Linked DNA regions of Homo sapiens: all the other regions are linked to region 2. The links are contacts of gene promoters, found by promoter capture Hi-C in human tissues and cell types (Jung and others, 2019). All regions are on one chromosome and are shown on one strand. Each heading gives the region's core, a stretch centred on a gene start or on the middle of the fragment in contact. The rest is flanking DNA. Distances are from core to core; before and after follow the strand shown. Region 1 overlaps SNX30 (sorting nexin family member 30). Region 2 holds the start of GNG10 (G protein subunit gamma 10). Region 3 overlaps SNX30 (sorting nexin family member 30).

What was found. The method cuts DNA at HindIII sites, captures the fragments that hold promoters and counts their contacts. A contact is called where the count stands out against the background at its distance.
Region 1: a fragment that was not itself captured here is called in contact with the fragment with the promoter of GNG10 in region 2 in 1 of the 25 tissues and cell types used here (lymphoblastoid cells).
Region 3: a fragment that was not itself captured here is called in contact with the fragment with the promoter of GNG10 in region 2 in 1 of the 25 tissues and cell types used here (dorsolateral prefrontal cortex).

Annotation. Positions count from the first base shown.
Region 1 is chr9:112,841,168-112,844,369 of GRCh38, forward strand. All of the region lies in intron 6 of SNX30 (sorting nexin family member 30), which reads left to right. Among named protein-coding and RNA genes, the nearest start is that of SLC46A2, 48 kb to the right of the region's middle. The HindIII fragment of the contact is 3,705 bases long and covers 93-3,202 here.
Region 2 is chr9:111,660,117-111,663,361 of GRCh38, forward strand. It overlaps GNG10 (G protein subunit gamma 10), which reads left to right and starts at 1,489. Exons shown (of 3, transcript NM_001017998.4): 1 at 1,489-1,599. The coding sequence starts at 1,519. All of the region lies in intron 1 of DNAJC25-GNG10 (DNAJC25-GNG10 readthrough), which reads left to right. RefSeq lists enhancers at 1,070-1,129, 2,200-2,299, 2,500-2,549 and silencers at 1,310-1,759, 1,790-1,909. The HindIII fragment of the contact is 18,619 bases long and covers 1-3,245 here.
Region 3 is chr9:112,776,603-112,779,773 of GRCh38, forward strand. The region is part of intron 1 of SNX30 (sorting nexin family member 30); the gene reads left to right. Among named protein-coding and RNA genes, the nearest start is that of SNX30, 27 kb to the left of the region's middle. The HindIII fragment of the contact is 6,730 bases long and covers 1-3,171 here.

The sequences.
Region 1 (3,202 bases), core at 695-3,194, 1.2 Mb after region 2:
TGAAAAATCCAATGCATACACAGCACTGGGATACTATAGTACAAATTACTCTGTTTTTTTTCCTGTGGCAAGTATGTTAGTACTTAGTATATATTTGTATTTGAAGCACGATTTAAAAATGTCATATAGCAAGGATTTATCTGGCATCTATAAAACATTACACTGGGAGACATAGCTTGTGTAATTTAAGTTAGACATCAAAGAAACATTTGTTTGCTCTTTCTTTACCCCCCATGTGTGGGGCATATGTATGGAGTTTCTTGTTTACTGAGCCTGAAAAATCAGGTCAATCAGGCTGAGTGAATGGGATTGATTGTACACAGTCTTGTCTGGGGAAGGGCATGGAAAAGAGGAAGTGTGGACTGGCAGTCTCTGAAACCCAAGCTCTATCCCCGATAGTAGCTGAGCTGAGTCCAATTAATAAGAAACAGGGCCACTGCTCCTCCACTTTTCACCAGGAAAATGTCTCTGCAGAGTGCCCTGGGCACGATAGGAGTGATTGGATGGCAAAGCAAAGACTGTGTCTGGGATTATCAGGGTCTGTGTGGCTGGGACTAAAGACACCAGGAGAATGATAGATGTCTTAAGTGGCTTGCCCACCTTTTCACATTGCTGCTCTGTAAGAATTTTTAAGTATATTTTCTTCCTCCGAGAGAGTCATATAGTTCCATTTCCAAAATGGCTTTCTGATTTTTGAAACTTAAGTAGGGCAGACTTTGCTGTGCAGTATGGAAACTAAGCGTGGAGCAGAGGACTTGCCACAGGCCTGGCTGTGGCCTGTTCTTTATTTTTTGGAGATGGACTCTTGCTCTGTCGCCCAGGCTGGAGTGCAGTGGCACGATCTTGGCTCACTGCAACCTCCACCTCCCGGGTTCAAGTGATTCTCCTGCCTCAGGCTCCCGAGTAGCTGGGATTAGAGGTGCACATCACCACGCCTGGCTAATTTTTGTGTTTTTAATAGACACAGGTTTCACGACGTTGGCCAGGCTGGTCTCAAACTCCTGACCTCAAGTGATCTGCCTGCCCTGGCCTCCCAAAATGCTGGGATTACAGGCGTGAGCCCCCACATCAGGCCTGTGGCCCGTTCTTCATCAGCTGCTGAATGGTCCTCAGAGCTGAGAAAGTCCTGGGTTGGTTTTGGTGAGGAGTTACTGGTGTGGTGAGGTTCTGTCAGTCTATCTTCATCATGGCCTTGAGGGAACCTAATGGTGAGTGTTTGTCCTCATCATTTGGAAGTAGTGGCCTGTGCCTTAGGAATTTGAAATGGTGGATGGCTGGTCCCTCCCTGGATGGGAAAATGCCAGGGAAAAGTCCTGTCCTGATGGAGCTGTGGTGGGGGTTCCTCTCTGAGTTCGAAAGGGCCTTTAGGATCATCTTTCTCATTTGCTCATTGTTGACACGAAGAAACAGACCCTTGTGAGTAAATCTTTTCTCTGTTGCATGGCCACAGGACTATACTCCTTAGTGACCAATCAGCTTGTAGCTGTGTGTTTACTACTTGCCAAGAGGCAAACTAGGTGACTTTAGGCTTTTCAAGCCTGGCCTCCAACTGTATCTCTTTCAGGACAATTGTGGCTAGGTATGTTCTGTTCCCTTTGGAGGTAGAGAGCATAGAAAAATAGGGTCATTATCAAGGCACTCGGAACAAATGGAACAATGTGAGTTTAAGCAGTGAACAATGAGAACAGCTTGTACTAGAAAGACGGTTGAAGGCATGTGTCACAAGGATATGTGTGCGGGGACAGGAAGGTACAAAAGGTTAGTTACCCTTAAGCCCAGACTCAAGTTAAATACCTCGCAGACATCCACAGGTGAGCCCTTACATAGGATTTCACATCCTATAAACTGTGTGTGTATAATGAAATTAGGGTAGTGATGGGTTGAAAGAGGCCCTCTTGAAGTCCTCACCACTTTTCTGGCAGTGCCTTTTGAGTATTAGCATTGTCATGACTAGGCCAAATGTTGGAGAAGCTTTATTCCTGAAGGTTTGGGCAGGACTGTCTTATTTCCCACACTGCCTTATCCATAGAAGGTGGTCAGCAAGCATGTAATTGAATCGGACAATTTGGTAAATTTGCGACACTTACAAATATACAATGATTGCACATTGTACATCTTATTTTTAAGAGGTTTATCTATGTCAATACGCATGCTTATCTCAGGGGTCTTGGTGAATGACTGGGGTGGGGTGAGGGTCTGAAGTAAGAGTAGGTTGTAAGGGAAAGCCACATGGAAAAGGCTGTGGCTGGAGACTTGGAAGACATATGGGAGTGAGCTGCGCAAGGGTCGGAGGATGGAGCATTTTAGGCAGAGGGGAGCAGCCAGTGCAAAGTCCGAAAGCTGAAATGAGCTCAGAGTCTTTGCAGATCAGAAAGGCTGGGGAGTGGAACCTGGTGAGCAAAGGAGTAAGTGGTAAGCGGTGAGGTCAAAGAGAGGTAGGAGCCTGGTCCTGCAGTAGCTTTTTTTTTTTTTTTTTTTAGACAGAGTCTCACTCTGTTGCCCAGGCTGCGTGATCTCAGCTCACTGCAACCTCCACTTCCCGCTTCAAGCGATTCTCCTGCCTTAGCCTCCTGAGTAGCTGGGATTACAGGTGCGCACCACCACGCCCGGCTAATTTTTGTATTTTTAGTAAAGACGGGGTTTCACCATGTTGGTGAGGCTGGTCTCGAACTCCTGACCTCATGATCCACCCACGTTGGCCTCCCAAATGCAGTAGCGTCTTAAAGACCATCTTAAAGGCTGGTAAGAGTCTGGACTTTATTCTAAGGACTAGAAGAGAAGCCATTTGGTTTTATGCAGGGGGATGACAGGATGTGATTTTCACTTTAAGAAGACAACTAGTGCTACAGTATGGAGACTAGATTGTAGAGGATGAGAGTGGTGATTGGGAAGGCCGTTCAGAAGGCTGTCACAGGGAGCCAAGGGCAGAAAACTAGGTGGTGGAGCCTGGACTGCAGTGGTAGAGACGTGGGTGGATTTGGGGTATATTTTGGATGATGGGCCAATGGCACTTGCTGCTGTAGTGATGCAAAATAAGAAAGGAATTGGGGTTTTTGGCTTTAGCAGCTGGGTGGATCGCAGTACTGTTTATTGGGACGGGGAGGGTCCAGGGAGGAACAGGTGGAGCAGTTGGGAGTCCACTATTTTGGGCATGTGGAATTCAGAATGCCTCCTAATCATTAAAGTGGAGATGTCATGGCAG
Region 2 (3,245 bases), core at 239-2,738:
TAATTTCTTTGTGGTGAGGAAATTGGCCACTAGAGAGGGCTTTCAAATGTGCAAGTCTCCCTTTGGCCCAGGCACAGCTAATCTGAGCACGTCAATGCCACACATCCTTGCCTTCAAAGAGTAATTGGGCCAGGGGTGGGCCCATGACTTAATACCAGCCAGTGAGGTTCATTATGGGGATTTTTGCTGGAACGATTAGAAAGAAAAGAGGTACTATTTTTCCTGGGTTTGCTAGATGGGGACAGTGAAAGTGTGGTGCCTTCCTTCATACCACTAGAGAAGTCCATCTACCACCAAGGAAAATGAGGCTAATCTCAGGAAAAGCAGAATCAAAACAAGGAGGATGAGAGCCCCAAAATTATTATTTGGGTAATTGAATTCACTAGTTTAAAGTCCCTGGACTTTTCAGTTACACAAGCCAATATATTACCTTTTGCAATATTCAGTTTAAGTGAGTTCTGACAAATACAATGGTGTACAAGAATAATGACGTATTAATGATACATGGAAAAAAGCAACACAAAAATTTTAAATATAGTAACGATCCCAGTTTTGTAAAACACTTATTAAAAAATGCAGTAGGCCTATAATGCCAGCACTTTGGGAGGCTGAGGTGGGAGGATCACCTGAGCCCAGGAGTTCAACACCAGCCTGGCCAACATCGTGAAACCCCGTCTCTACTAAAAATACAAAAATTAGCCGGGCGTGGTGGTGTGTGTCTGTAGTCCCAGCTACTCAGGAGGCTGAGGCAGGAGGATCACCTGAGCCCACGAGGTGGAGGCTACAAGGAGCTGTGATCACGCCACTGCACTCCACCCCGGGTGACAGAGCAAGACCCTGTCTCAAAAAAAAAAAAAAAAAAAAAAAAAGCAGCAGAATAGAAACAATGATGACAGTTAAATGGTGAGATGAGAGTGAGAAACGCTGAATTTAATTTTATTCTGTATGTTTCACAAAGATGTCAGGGTCTGGGATTTTATCCAATTTACCATACTCCACCAAATCAACTGGTAGGATCTCCGTGAAACAGTAACAGGGTCATTTAGAAACCTGTTGCTGCCTCATGAAAATCCTATGAACTCTCCTTGGTTCCCCGGTGATACTGTCTGGCAAGGCCCCTTATCTCTCCAACTCATGTCACACCTTGGCTCCAGTTCTCATTTCTCAGGGGTGCGTGTTTGCTGCCGCCCACTCCATCCTCGCGTCCCACGCCCTCGCGATTCCTGCTCATCCTAGGGGCGCCAGCTTCGCTGGAGGACGCCGCGCTCTGCGGGTCCCCGCCTCGGTTCCAGGCCCAGCTGCAGGTGCCACCCAGGTTTCAGGCGCTGAGGAGCGGAGAGCACTGCCAGCTCGCTGGGGTCCCCGCTGTCTCTGGCAAGCGGCTCCGCGCCGGGTGGGCTGGGGCGGCGGGGCGGGCGCAGCTGCTTCCCCGCCCCGGGGCGGCACCCGCGCTCGGGGCTGGCGGCTCCTCCCCGCCCGGCCGGGCCCAGCAGCCCCTAGGAGCCCAGCGCCGCCGCCATGTCCTCCGGGGCTAGCGCGAGCGCCCTGCAGCGCTTGGTAGAGCAGCTCAAGTTGGAGGCTGGCGTGGAGAGGATCAAGGTGCGGGCCCCGGGTACCCACGCTCCGGTCCTTCCGCCCGCGGGGCGTGAGAAGAGGAGGCCGGCGGCCCGGACCGGGCGCCAGCGGGGGACTCGGTGGCGGCGGCGAGGCCTCGGCGGGGCGCGGGGGCGGTGGGGTCCGCGGTGAGGGAGGGCGCGGGGCAAGCCGGGGGCCCGGGCCTGACGGGAGGAAGCCGCGCCTGGGGGGCCCCGCGGTCGTGGTCGGTCCCGGTCCCTGGGGGTGCGCCCACTCCAGAAGGCGGCCGTGGTCAGTTCCTCGGAGGGCGCAAGGGATGCCGGCGACGCGCGGGCCGGGAGGGTGGACCCAGGGCTGGGGAGGCCACCGCAGGGCGGCGAATTGGTGATGGATTGGTAGGATGAGAGCGAGAGGGAGGAGAGCCAGGATGCTCGGGTTTCTGTCGTCGTGACAGGGTGGACGGCGCTGCCACCCGCCGAGGTAGAGAGGAGGGGGAACAGGTTTGGGGAAATGATGAGTTCGGCTGCGGACCTGGGGACTCCGGGGAGTCATCCGGGAGGTATTTGTCCTCATGGCCTGAAGCTCAGCGCCCAGGGCTGAAAGAGGTCATTCAAGTGCATTGGGGCGAAAAAGCCTCTTCTATGAAGAGCAGAGCTCAGAGCCTGGGACCCGGGGACCAGCCACACCGATGGCCGGTGGCCGAGAGAAGAGGAAATAAGAGACAGCAAGGTTTCCGAGCAAGGCCTAGAGAAGAGGAAATAAGAGACAGCAAGGTTTCCGAGCAAGGAAGTAGGGATTTCCAAAAACTGGGGGCTCAGTCAACATGTCCAGCGTTTAGTCAGTTGGCTAAAAGGCGTCTGTTGTAGAGCTGTGTTTAGCTACGAGTGCAGCATTATTTGCAGAAGATCTGTAAGAAGGAACACAACCAGGATAGTCCCTGTGCCTCAGTTTCTCCTTTGCTGTGTGCCTGGCACTGCTACAGGGAATAGGGTGGTTCTGGAGGGGAAGGTAAACAGCAACTTAACGGATACATAGCATCGCTTCATGTACTAAGTGGAGTGAAGATAATAAACAGGGTAAAGGGAGAGAGGGCTGTGGAATGCAGAGGTCTGGTGGCTTATGTGTTAGTAAAAGCAGAATCTGGACTGTCATAGGGTAGGCAGACGTTTTTTCTTTTTAAAGAAACCTAGTTTTAAAGAGGAAATAACGTGTTTTTTTAACTTAGGAAATGAAAAGCCATGTTTTAGGGTTGAGAGGAAGTAACAAATTATATTTTTAGGTTCCAGGGAAGAAACAAATGGAAGCCAATTGCTGGTAGAGGAGACAGGGCTACGGGGGGGTGGGGGATTGGTGGCACAGCTTCTGAGACAGGAAGAAAGAAGGTAAGGGTGTGTGTAAAGATAAGTTTCTAGATATGGGCTAAACTTGTATGGTGACACTTTTCTTTGTGAAATAGGAGGCCAGGTTTTCTTCTAAGGCAGAGGAAAGGGGACTAAGGGAGTGGCCCCTGAGCAGGCACGCAGATGCGCTGTGACTGAAGACCCAGCTGCTGTGACAAGGGAGACTGCTGGTCATATTTGTGATTTTTTTTTTTTCCTGCAGCAATCTTTACCATCCTGGAATGTGAGTGCTGAAGGTGAACGGTAGTTGAAAGAGGAGTAAGTTAGCAG
Region 3 (3,171 bases), core at 575-3,074, 1.1 Mb after region 2:
CATATTTGTGTAGCCACACGCTCATGTCTATGTGTGTGTAAACATGTACATGTATGTATAGGCAGTGCACAGAGACTCTGCAGTCAGCCTTTGCCCTGGCTGTGGTGAGTGGATAGGGGTGGGGTAAGTCTGAGACGGGAGCAGATAGAGTCTAGGTCTTTGGAACTGCTCCTAGGCAGGCCTCCTTTCAGGATGTGTGGCTGATAACAGGACAGCAGGCTGGATGGACCCTTCTGAACTAAGGAAGTGGGGAAGAGTTTACCCTGCAGGTAGAGAATTTCATGCTCTTCCCACAATACCCTTCCTCTTTTCCTTCTTCCAGTTGCGTTAGCAACTTGGCACTCCACAGTCCTTTGCTCACCGCCCCCTGCCTTCCCAGTGCCTACTTCTGTTCTCAGTCTCTGTGGTCTCTGATTTTGAGTATTTTTCCAGACCCTATATAGCAAATCCCATGTCTTCCCAGATTTAGCATTTCCCACTGACCTTTTAGGTTTTGGTTCCTCAATTCTGGCTAAATCTGATTTTTCTGTAAATTTGATCCTGTTTGCTGTATCTCTTCCAGAAATTCCTCAAAATTTCTTATTGATTGATGGCATCCGTTCCTGTTTTCTGGCTTTTTAATGGGTTTATTTTTATTTTTATATTCCTTTTGTCATTCCCTTGGAACTTGGAGTGACACAAGAATCAAACACTTGAGCTCAGCCCGTCACCATTGTGGACTCAGTGTATCTCATTACTTTTCACTGGCGGGATTCTGTAACACCCTCTTTAACCAGTTTCCTAGTTTGTTCGTCTTCCATATAATCTTTTTAAAGATATTTATTTATTTATTTATTTATTTAGAGACAGAGTCTTGCTCTGTTGCTCAGGCTGGAGTGCAGTGGTGCAGTCATGGCTCACTGCAGCCTCAAACTCCTGGGATCAAGCAGTCATCCCACCTCAGTTTCCAGAGTAGCTGGGACTACAGGTGCATACCACCACACCCAGCTAGTTTTTAATTTTTTTTTTTTTTTTTTTTTTTTTTTTGTGGAGATGGGTCTCACTATGTTGCCCAGACTGGTCTTAATACTCCTAGCCTCAAGTGATCCTCCCGCCTCAACCTCCCAAAGCTTTGGGATTACAGGTGTGAGCCACCACACTTGGCCTCCATGTAATCTTAATAGTATTAACAGCAACAGCTTTTAAACTGAGTGGTTGCTATGTGCCACGCATTGTATCATACCCAATTTAATTGTTCCTTTATCTTTTACCCCTCATTTGCTAGGCAGACATTGTTTTGGTTATGTACTATTGCTTAACCACCCCAAAACTAAGTAGGTTAAAACACAAATGTACTGTGATCTTTTAGGGTTCTGTGGGTTGACTACCCTCAAGTATGTGTTTTTTGCTCTAGGTGTCTCTTGTATTTGGAGTCAGAAGTTGGCTGGGGCTGCAGTCAACTGGAGGTTCATTGGACTGGTTGCCTAAGGTGACTCACTTGTGGCCACAGTTGACTGGAGTGCCTATGTGTGACATCACCATGTGGCTTGGGCTACTCAAAGTGTTGTGGATGGGTACCTGGAGGGCATGTCCCAAGAATGAGCATTCTAAGAGTCAGGGAAGTGGAAATTGCTGGGCCATATAAGGGCTATGCCTGAAATTGGCACAGGATCAGTTTGGCCATATTCCTTTTTTTTTTTTTTTTTTTTGAGATGGAGTCTTGCTCTGTCACCCGGGCTGGAGTACAGTGGTGCGATCCCGGCTCACTGCAACCTACGCCTCCCGGGTTCAAGTGATTCTCCTGCCTCAGCCTCTCGAGTAGCTGGGATTTCGGGCACCTGCCACCAGCCCAGCACATTTTTGTATTTTTAGTAGAGAGGGGGTTTCGCCATGTTGGCCAGGCTGGTCGCGAACTCCTGACCTTAGGTGATCCGCCAGCCTCGGCCTCCCAAAATGCTGGGATTATAGGCGTGAGCCACTGCGCCCGGCCCGGCCATATTCTTTTGGTCAAAATAGTCAGAGGGTCTACCCAGATTCACCAGGATGGGTTGATAGACATCATCTCTTGATGGGGAAGTGGCCAGGTCACATGACAGATAAGCATGTAAGACCAGAGATATAGTTAGGACCTTCCTTTGAAAAATACCAACTGCCACAGATACCATGCTGGAGATAGAATAACAGCTACCAGGTCCATGCTTTCTCACACCTTATGGTTCAGTGCCAGAGGCAGGTGGATGAACAGGCAATGACAGCACAGATCATAAGTGTTATGAAAGAGCTAGGTACAGGGGCATGATGAGAGAACTTGGGGGGGGGGGATTTGCACAGCCCAGACTGGGCAAGTACTGGTGGGTGGGGAAGTTGGTTGAGAAAGAACACATCTTAGAGGAGGTATCTTTGGAGCTGAGTCTTGAAGCACAAATGGGCATTAGCTAGGTGAGTAAGGCATCCCATACAAAGTGCTCGTGGCACTTGGGGGAATTACTGATGGTCTGAGGATTGGCAGGGAATTGGGTGCTGCTGGCACGTGTGATGTGAGGTGGCGAAAGTGTGTTCTCCCTTTAGATTCTCTTCATCTGTGGCCTTGCCTGTGAGGGCTCTAGCTGGTCCTGTATGCAATGTATTAGCGGGACATTTAGGTGTCTCCTTAGGAGGTGACGGATAGACTGTGTGAGTGGGAAGAGAAGAGTGAGCCTCATTAGCTTCACTGTGGTGAGCTTTTTGTGGATTCTCTTCACTCTCCATCATTCATTTCTCCTTCTGTTTCATATTCTCTTTTTTTCCTTCCCGGTCTGTTGCTCAAGTGAACACATAGAAGAGGGTTATGTTGGACCAGGCATGGTGGCGCATGCCTGTAATCCCAGCACTTTGGGAGGCTGAGGTGGGCAGATCACTTGAGGTCAGGAGTTTGAGACCAGCTGGCCAACATGGTGAAACCCGTCTCTACTAAAAATACAAAAATTAGCTAGGCATCGTGGGAGGTGCCTGTAGTCCCAGCTACTTAAGAGGCTGAGGCAGGAGAATTGCTTGAACCTGGGAGGCGGAGGTTGCAATGAGCCAAGATCGCGCCACTGCACCCTAGCCTGGGTGACACAGTGAGACTCTGTCTCAAAAAACAAACCAAAAAGAGAGCTGCATTCATTGCTGAAGGGTGAGGGCAGGTGAGGGAAGGGAGCTGGTGTTGGAGGA